Linked DNA regions of Homo sapiens: region 1 is linked to region 2. The links are contacts of gene promoters, found by promoter capture Hi-C in human tissues and cell types (Jung and others, 2019). All regions are on one chromosome and are shown on one strand. Each heading gives the region's core, a stretch centred on a gene start or on the middle of the fragment in contact. The rest is flanking DNA. Distances are from core to core; before and after follow the strand shown.

Region 1 (5,071 bases), core at 1,367-3,866, 590 kb before region 2:
GGTCAGTGCACCAGAGATGGGAGCTAGGGGTGGCATGGACCAGACCTGCATTTAACAAGCAAAGAAACAGAGGCTAACAAAAGGTCAGTGACTTGCCCATGATGTCACAGCCAGCAAGAGCTGGAGCTGGGATTTGAACCTGGGTCTAGGTCACAGTCCAAAGCCTCCATTCCCAGTATACCTCACACTGCCCACTCTAGGCCAAAGCAGTTGGGCTTGTGGTCCAGCCAAGCATGGGGAACTATTGCAGAAATTCAATCTGAGCTATTTTGAGCCTCAGTTTCCTCACCTCCCACACAATTAAGTGAGGTCATGTACCTCAAATGCCAGTTACAGGGTAAGGCATGCAGTACACCTTTGGTGAACATGACTCACCATGAGTGCCCCTGTGGAAGGAACAGGCCTTCTTGGTAGCATCAGATGGGACCTTTAGATTCCAGAGCAACAGCTTGTGGTGCACCCCGTAACTTCCAAAGATTCCTCAGCTTGGGTCTCTGTTCCTACGGGGTGGCAGAGTGGGGAGGGGGTTATCTGTTTCCACTCACATCAGCAGGAGTACCAGTAAAGCTGAAGGCCTGGAAGGAGAGCTCCAGTCTCTTGGGGACCTCTTGGGGCACGAAGTGGGAGTGGAAGTTCTTGCCGTTCACCAGGCACCTGGAAGGCACAGGTTGGAAGGTCATCAGGGTCAGACCCCTGAACTGGGATCTGGTCCTAGCCCCAACACCACCATACACCATCATTTGTTGAGAATTCTGCATGCCAAGCACTGAGCTAAGCGTCACCCCATTCAGTCTACACAGCAGGCTTTGAAGATTCTGGCACTATCCCCATTTCACAGAAGGGCAAACAGAGGCTCCAGAGGTGAAAGGGCCAGTAAAGCATTCTTGCTCCCCTGGCCTAGAAAGGACTACTCAAGAACGCCCAGGGAGCACTATCTGGGCATCCGTGCCTTCCAGCCCTGGAAGGCTCTCAGCCCCTGTCCCAGCCTCCCCAGAGATATCACCCACTGAATTGTACCCATCCTACCCTATCCTCCTCCTCCAGGTTCAGTACCCATGATTCCTGACAAGGCTGTAGTGTGCAGGGGCCACTTCCATATCCTGGCTGGGGCTGATCACACACTCGTCCACATATACCTGTAAAGGCTAATGGGAGCTGCCAACCACAGCAAACTCCATGTGGAGCTCAGAGCCCAGGAAAATGGTGCTGGTGTTGGTGGGGTCTGGATCCTCCAGTATGGCCCCACCCTGAGGTGGAATGAAACCAAGATGGGGAAGACACGAGACCCAGAGATGCTGAAGGGTTTGCCTGAGGCCACACAGCAAGAGGAGAAGCAGGAAAAGCTAGGGCCAGGTGGCCAGAAGCCCAGTGCCCTCACACTCTGTTACTGGTCCTCCCTCACTTCCTTATTTCTCCAGGGGTAACCTGGCCCAGAACTGGAGGCACAGGAGTCCCTGAGCTAGAAGACCTTCCTCTTGGGACATTACTTCAGCCCAGCCAATGTCCCCCACCTGTGGGAGGCAAAGAACCAGGCCAAAGTCTCATGCTGAAGTCCAGATTTCCAAACGCAGCCAGAGAGTCAGTGACCAAGGAGGTGGGAGGTGAGATGGGAGCTCCTGGGCTGGCAGGGAAATAAGGGGGGGGCGGGGAACATTGCAACTCTGGCATGTGAGGGGGCCCAGAAAACAAACACTAAAGGCCCATGCCAAGTCCCCCAGGGCAGCCCATGAGGAGGAAGAACAGGAGGGAAAAGGCCAGGAATTCCAAATTCCAACCCCCAGGTGAGCATTTCCAGCCCTGCCCCAGGCTCACACCAAGTGGGGGCCAGGAGGTCAGCGCCTGGTGGCCCCTTTCTGGAGGGGCAGCCCCCATCCAACCTACCATTCCCTCTTCCTGCAGACCTCCAGGTGGCAGGGCCCTAGACAGGCTTAGGGGTGCTAGGCATTGCTCACGCCTTGACCACACTGCTGACCCAATGGCGGGAGGCAGCACTGCAGGGCTGCTCTGAACTGGGTGGTGGTGCATAGACCAGGTCAGCAAATAATTCCACTATCTTTCCTGAGATCTGCGAGGATACTTGCTCCTTAGGATGGTGGGAAAAGGCAGGAAAGGTCTACTCCCAGCTTGGGCCCCCACCTCACTGGGTGGTCTTGAAGTCACTTGCCCTGTCTGGGCCTCAATTTCCTGCTAGGCCTCATTCGAGGTCCCTGTCTTGCTTAAATGCCTATTCTGGCAGGGCTCGGTGGCTCACACCTGTAATCCCAGCACTTTGGAAGGCCGAGGTGGGAGGATCGCTTGAGCCCAGGAGCTGGAGACCAGCCTAGGCAACATAGCGAGATCTAGTCTCTGCAAAAAAAAAAAAAAAAAAAAAAAAATCAAAAAATTATCCAGGCACACGCCTGTGGTCCCAGCTACTTGGGAGGCTGAGATGTGAGAATCACTTGAGCCTGAGAGGTAAAGACTACAGTAAGCCATAATTGCACCGCTGCACTCCAGCCTGGGCAACAGAGCGAGACCCTGTCTCAAGGAAAAAAAAAGCCAATTCTGCTTTGAAGAATGATGTGCTGAGTTGCATCTGGTGGTAGACAGTGGGGTCTTCCCTTCTGTGAGCCTCAGTGTCTTCATGTGGAATATGGGAATGATGGTTTTATCTCCTCACGGGGCTGTTGAGGATGCAAGAAACAAATGCACGTAAAGGGCACGTACAAACACACAGATGCTAAATGGCAAATCTGCATCAAATCCTTAGCTACTGAATTCTGCAGAGATACAGGGCTCTGCATCTTTGAGAGAAAAACTCACACTCGGAGAGGCTGTGACTTGCAAATCAGTATGATCTGATTCTACCCTTCTTTCCAGCCCAGACACCCCAGCTCTTCTCCCCCGAATCTCCCGGGTACTCCCTGGCTCTTGGCAGCCTTGTCCTCGTGAGCCTCCAACAGCCCCCTCACCAGTTGGATGAAGCCATAAGCTTTGAATGGGGCAGTGAAGACCTCATAGCCAGGTATGGCAGGGACTGGGGAGGGCAGGCAGGTGCCAAGGCACAGGTGGCAAGCATCCACCTGGGGCTCCTTCCTCACTGCCAGGAGGACATCTGTCTGATTACAGTCCTGCAGGAGGCTGTCTCCTGGCAATCCAGCCCAGGCTAGCTCAGGCGGAGAACCAGACTCAGCGAGAACATGGCCAGCAGAGGGTGCCCAAAAACCTCCCCCAGCATCCCCCACCTTCAATTAATTCCCTGCATCTCCAGAATGGAGCAGGGAGCTGGGCACAGTGACTCACGCTTGCAATCCCCGCATTTTGGGAGGCTAAGGTGGGCAGATCAGTTGAGGTCAGGAATTTAAGACCAGCCTGGCCAACATGGTGAAACCCCGTCTCTACTAAAAATACAAAAATTAGCTGGACATGGTGGCATGCACCTCTAGTCCCAGCTACTTGGGACACTGAGGCAGGAGAACTGCTTGAACCCGGGAGGCAGAGGTTGCAGTAAGACAAGTTTGTGCCACTGCACTCCAGCCTGGGTGACAGAGCGAGACTCAGTCTCAAAATGATAATAATAATAATAAATGGAGCAGGGTAAAATGTTGGGGGGTTGTGGAGATGGTGGTGTTTCCCCCTACAGACAGGATGTCCACCGACCTCATCCCTATCAGCCTGGCCTGGGAGTGCCTCAAAGCCCCTTCTGTGAGCACCTACTATGTGCCAGGCATCTGCAAACTTGCACCCCGGTATTTCCTCACAAGTTACCACCAACGGGGCAGTCAAGGGCAGAGGTGGCCCACAGTAAGGCATAGTAAGGGGCAACAACAGAAGGGGCACTGGAGCTGGTTCTGAAGGGTGCTCATAGCTGGCCAAGAGGAAAAGGATTTGCAGCTGAGGAACAGTGTGTTGTGAGGAAAGGCATAGAGGCACAGGAGGGCAGGTGATGGGGAGAAGGACAAGGCTGGGCGCTTAGGCCCATGAGCACAAAGCCTATATGTGGCCTGCACAGATCCCAGCTTGAGGGAGAGCCTGCAGAGTGGAAAGTGGAGAGTGAGTGAGCAAGGAATTGGTGGTAGATGCCAGGAGATGTCACAGGGATGCAGGTGTGAATGTACCCCGCATGGGGCTGTGACTGCCGGGGGAGAAGATGAGCTGGGAAAATGCTGGGCTGGAGAAGGATGTGAGTGCCAGCTCAGACAGGGAATGGGGGGTGGGGTCGGGGGCTAGAGAACAAGGCGGGGCTTAAAGCCTTTAAGGGAGCTGGGAGGGAGTGACAGGTGACTGGGCAGAGGCCATAGGGGCTTGGGAAGGGGACCTTGCCAGTGTGGGACAATAAGAGTAGCAGAGAAAGGCTCAGCCCACATCAGACTCATCCTGTAGCCATGGATACCCCCAGAGCAGCAGGGGCCACCACCCCGGAGCCCCCATCCTGTCTTGCTGGCAGCACCCCTACCCAGCCCTGCAGCCCCTTTAAGTCCCAGCCCAGGTGCAGGTGAGTCCCACCAGGACAGGGTCAGCCTACCTGACTGCACCTGGGCTGCAAGGGATGGGGCCAGGGTCTTGGTGGGAGCTGATTTGGTGCTTGGGGCAGGGCTGAGAGGGGCCCAGGTCTGCTTCAGCCCTGTGCTCCCACCTCTCTACCTCTCTGAGCTGTTGAGGGGGATGGCCCAGGATCAGAGGAATGGCCCCCTCTAGCACTCTCGAGCCCAGCAGCTCAGGGGAAGCCACAAGGAAAACAGGCCATTCCCTGATTCTGAGTGTAAGAAGCCCCCTGGTCACTTCCTTCTCCAGGCTGCCGAGTCCCCTCATGAGGAGGTCTCATGTGACCCTCATATGGGGCTGACACCACCATCTTGGCCACCTTCAGGCTCAGGTGGTATCTGCCCAACAGGCTCCCCTCCCAGAGGGGTTGGTGCTTTAGGAGGCTAGAAAAAGAGGGCAATGCCAGGCTGAGTGCAGTGGCTCATTCCTATAATCCCAGCAGTTTGGGATGCTGAGGTGGGAGGATTGCTTGAGCCCAGGCATTCAAGGCCAGCCTGGGCAACATAGGGAGACCCCCATCTCTATTAAAAGTAAGTAAGTAAAGGGT
Region 2 (5,196 bases), core at 2,697-5,196:
CACCCAGCTAGTTTTTTTATTTTTATTTTTTGAGAGACTAAGTCTCATTATGTTGCCTGGGTTGGTCTCGAACTCTTGGCCTCAAGCAATCCTCCCACCTCAGCCTCTCAAAGTGCTGGGATTACAGGCATGAGTCACCACACCCAGCCTTAAGCCTTCTAATGATGATGAGGTGGATATTAACTACCTTGTTTAACAGATGAGAAAACAGATATGTTTGGAGAAGTTAGGTGACTTATTGGATGTTTTGTCTTCTTACAGTCATGTTATTTAGTTCCAAAACCTTAGTGATATGAACATCTTTGTACCCATAGGGAAAGATGGAACCAGTGCATATATTTTCTCCAGATCTACTATTTTAAGTTTTTCCTGGACCAAAGGCTGCTGTATGTGATTTTCTCCCAACTAATCACCAAGATACAGATTGCATTTTCCTTGTGCCCAGTGTGTGTGGATGACAGAGAAGAAAAAACAAAATAAAACAAAAACACACAGTTTCTGGCACCTTTTTCTGTCCCTTCCATGTCAGTAGAAGATCAGTTTTCCTAAAAATGACAGCAACAGGCTGGCATGGTGGCTCATACCTGTAATCCCAGCACTTTGGGAGGCTGAGGTGGGAGGATCGTTTGAGCCCAAGAGTTCAAGACCAGCCTGGGCAACATAGTGAGACACCATCTCTACAAAAAAATTAAAAATTAGCTAGGCATGGTGGTGCATGCCTATAGTCACCCCTACTCAGGAGACTGAGGCAAGAGAATTGTTTGAGCCCAGGAGGCAGAGGCTGAAATGAGCCATGATCACACCACTGCACTCCAGCCTGGGTGACAGAGGGAGACCCTATCTCAATAATAATAATAATAATAATAACAGCAACAAAGGGAAACATTCACTGTTCTGACGCAGCTTGTGGCCCTTGAGATCTCTTGGAGCTTGGGGCTAAACAGGGCTGAATTCAAATCCCCACTCCACCCACTTACCAGCTCTGTGACTCTGGTCTAGTCTTTAAACCTCTCTTTAAAATGGGGTCATAATAGCGTCTACCTCTTATCATTGTTACAAAAAGTCAAAGAGCACCTGGCTCAGTGGCTCACACCTGTAATCCCAGCACTTTGAGAGATCAAGACGGGCAGATCACCTGAGGTCAGGAGTTTGAGACCAGCCTGCCCAACATGGCAAAACCCCATCTCTACTAAAAATACAAAAATTAGCCCAGTGCATGCCTGTAGTCCCAGCTACTACGGAGGCTGAGGCAGGAGGATGGCTTGAACCTGGGAGGCGGAGGTTGCAGTGAACCAAGATCGTGCCACTGCACTCCAGCCTGGGTAACAGAGTGAGACTCCATCTCATTTAAAAAAAAAAAAAAGTCAAAGAGATAATATGTGTAAAATGCTTATTCCAGTGCCTGGGATGAAGCAAGGGTTTGACAAATGTGGTCATTATTATCACAACTGTCTTTATCTCTCTGCACCTCTACTTCCTCTGCTGCAGACCTGGGGTTGATATGCATCCTCCAAGTATCTGTGGCAGGCAGACTCTAGAATGGCCTCCATTGATTCACATCTTTTGGTATTCATGCCCTTGTGTAATCCCCTGTGGGCAAATCCTGTGACTTGCTACTAACAAATAGAACATGGCAAAACTGATGTCACTTTCTTGATTAGGTTACATGAGGTTGTAATTTCTCTCTTCTTAGTAGAATCTCCTATTGCCTCCTTTTGTTTGTTTGAGACAGGGTCTTGCTCTGTTGTGCAGGCTGGAGTGCAGTGGTGTGATCACAGCTAACTGCAGCCTCGAACTCCTGGGCTCAAGCAATTCTCCTGCCTCGACCTCCTAAGTAGCTGGGACTACAGGCATGCACCAGCATGCCTGGCTAATTTTAAATTTTTTTTTGTAGAGACGAAGTCTCGCTATGTTGCCTAAGATGGCCTCAGACTTCTGGGCTCAAGCAATCTTCCCACCTTAGCCCCCCGAAGTGTTGGGATTATAGGCATGAGCCACGGTGCCCGGCCCCTATTGCCTTCTTTTATTTATTTATTTATTTTTAATTTTTAGAGACTGGGTCTTGCTATGTTGCTCAGGCTCAATTTGAACTCCTAGGCGCAAACAATCCTCCTGCTTCAGCCTCCCAACCTGCTGGAACCATAAGCATGTGCCACCACTCTTGGCTTCCCTATTAACTTTTAGGCTTGCATGCTTTGATGAAGCAGGCTGCTACACTGGAGAAGCCTACGTGACAAGCCTTTAGCCAAAATCCAGCTAGGAACTGAGACCCTTAGTCCAACAACCATTAAGGAACTGAATTTAGCCACTAGACATGGGAAGCAGATCCTTTTTGAGTTGAGCCTTTAAATGAGACTCCAGCCCTGGCCGATATCTTGATTGCAGTCTTGTGGGTGACCCTGATGCAGAGGAGCCAGCTATGCCATCCTCAGATTCCTGGCCCACAGAAAATGTGAGATAATAAATATGTTTGTTGGCCAGGTGTGGTGGCTCACGCCTGTAACCCCAGCACTTTGGAAGGCTGAGGCAGGCGGATCACGACGTCAAGAGATCGAGACCATCCTGGCCAACATGGTGAAACTCCGTCTCTACTAAAAATACAAAAATTAGCTGGGCCTGGTGGCTCATGCCTGTAGTCCTGCCTACTTGGGAGGCTGAGGCAGGAGAATCGCTTGAACCCACTGTAACCTCCGGGAGGCAGAGGTTACAGTGAGCCAAGATCACACCACTGCACTCCAGCCTGGTGACAGAGTGAGACTCTGTCTCAAAATAAATAAATAAATAAATGTGTTTGTTATAAGTGGCAAGCAGTGTGTTGTTATAAGTTTGTGGTAATATGTTATGCAGCAATACAAAACTAATATAATATCCAGCCCCTCTCATCTCATTTCTGGTTTACAGCCCATCTCTCCTATTTCCTTAGCACCCTGCATTCATCACACTGACTCATTGCTATTGGTTTTCTTGCACTTCCTATCCTGTAAGCCCCTTGAAGACAGGCACTGAACTAAGCATTCCTTGTAGCCCTAGTGCAGATAGCAGGGGTTGGCAGGAGTGTCCTGGGAAATATTTCACAATCCCAGGGTGGGGTTGTGTTCTCCATTCGGGGGCTTCTATAACACCCCAATAATGATGGTGGTTGGTTTTGAATTCTTACTGTGTACCAGGCACTGAGATGAAGCCAGGAATGTGTGTTCTTAACAAGTTTTCTGTGATGATTCTGATCCATAGTCAGGCTTAGGAACCACTAAACCTACATTACCTGAGACATTCTGTAGAAAAAATTGCATCCTTCTCTTAGGATAGCTATACTTGTAACTTCCTTAAACAAAACAGAACAAAACTGTATTGCATACATACAGAAAAATGCACAAATCTTAAGCGTACAATTTGATGAATTTTCCAAAGTGAACACATCTACATGGCTACCACCGAGATGAAGACAGGGGGTGACCCCAGCCTCACTTGTGGCCCCTCCCAGCCCACAGCCCCAGAGGAAACCACCAATTTTAACACCATCACTACTCATGAGTTCTGTCTGTTCTAGAATTTCCCGTAAATGAAATCGCAGTCTGTACTTGTACATCTGCTTAACATTATGTTCGTGCTTTTGACTTGTTAAAATTTCTCTTCTGGATTAAATATGTAAAACGGTGACTAAGGAGGTCGGGCAGAAGGTGGAAGCCTGGGATTCCGAGACGTCCTCTCAGGTGCCATACTTGGATTTCCCGAGAGGTGTAATCACACAGCCCGCCCTCAGCTGACCTATTCTCTGCTTAAGCAGGAAGGGAGATAGGAGGGGAAGGGGGCGTGGCTACAGACGCCGAGTGTGGGGCGGAGTCTTAAGAAGAGAGGCGCAACCCGGGTCCGGCTTCCCGGCGGTAGTTTGCTCGGCTCTGGGGGCGGGGCCAGGCCGAGACTTCCTGTCTGCTCCTGCGGAATCGCAGTTTGACCCCGGAAGTGCGGGCGCTCAGGGAGCTGTCACCGTGGTCGGCGGCGGCGGCGGCGGCGGCGGCACAGAGCCGGTGGTGGAGCCGCCGAGGTGAGTGCGTGGCTGGTCCCTGCCAGATGCAGGGCAAGGGACCCCGGAGGAGCCGCGGCTATGCCTTGGGCAGCCTTGGCTCTCCCATCCTCTGGCCTCCATTGCGGGGCCCACGCTTACGCTACCTGAGGGGTTGTGAGCCGCCTCTCGAGACTTGGCCGCCAGGGTCAGGAGCCACGGGTTCGAAGTTCGGCCCCAGAGTGGCGTTGGACCAGCCACGATCCCCCCACGTCCTCACACCCGGGGCTTCAGTTTCCTCAGGGTTCATTCATTCGTTCAGCAAATATTTGTGGAGTGCTTCCTATGTGCCAGACACAGATCTAGACATTGGGGATACAAAGAAAGCAAGACAGACAAGGCTTCTGCCCTCATGGAGCTTACAGTCTAGTGGGAGGAGATGGTCAACGACAAGCAAATGCACAAGGTCATTAAAGCTATGACAGTAACTGGGAGAGTGGATACTATAGGCAGAGCCATCAGAAGGTCTCTGAGGAGAGTAGTATTTAATTGAGAGACTAGAGGAATGATGACAAAGAGGCTGAGGGAGCAGTAGCCCCGGGGATGCTCCCAGGCCATATTGCAATTGGGTGCTTGTAGGGAGCTCCCCCTCCCTTTCTTAGCTTTTGGCTTTTGCTGTCCTGCCTGGCAGGGGAATACAGTGGTGGGCACAGACATAGTCATGATTATTGTTTGTCCTTTTGGAGCTCAAAGTTCAGATTGTCCAGTTAATTTATTTTTTCCCCCCAAGACGGGGTCTTGCTCTGTCGCCCAGGCTGGAGTGCAGTGGCGTGATCTCGTCCCACTGCAACCTCCGCCTCCCGGGTTCAAGCGATTCTCCTGCCTCAGCCTCCTGAGTAGCTAGGATTACAGGCATGCACCACCACGCCCTGCTAATTTTTTTTTTTTTTTTCGGTAGAGACGGGGTTTCACCTTGCTAGCCAGGATGGTCTCGATCTCCTGGCCTCGTGATCCGCCCGCCTTGGCCTCCCAAAGCGCTGGGATTACAGGCGTGAGCCATCGCGCCCAGCCCTGCCTACTTAATTTGTACCCGTGCTTTAGACAAAAACTCAGGTCTTCCTTGACATCACTTCTTCCTCAAGCCAGGTCTCTCTTTTAAATGCTGCCACAGCTTCATGAGCCTTATCTACATAGCT

What was found. Contacts are between HindIII fragments. The study calls those that stand out against the background at their distance.
Region 1: a fragment that was not itself captured here is called in contact with the fragment with the promoter of ASCC2 in region 2 in 1 of the 25 tissues and cell types used here (heart right ventricle).

The regions. Positions count from the first base shown.
Region 1 is chr22:30,429,200-30,434,270 of GRCh38, reverse strand. It overlaps LOC105372990 (a long non-coding RNA gene), which reads right to left and starts at 1,585. Exons shown (of 4, transcript NR_148046.1): 1 at 1,027-1,585; 2 at 376-654. The HindIII fragment of the contact is 3,341 bases long and covers 946-4,286 here.
Region 2 is chr22:29,837,024-29,842,219 of GRCh38, reverse strand. It overlaps ASCC2 (activating signal cointegrator 1 complex subunit 2), which reads left to right and starts at 3,946. Exons shown (of 20, transcript NM_032204.5): 1 at 3,946-4,042. RefSeq lists an enhancer at 3,614-3,673. The HindIII fragment of the contact is 14,310 bases long and covers 1-5,196 here.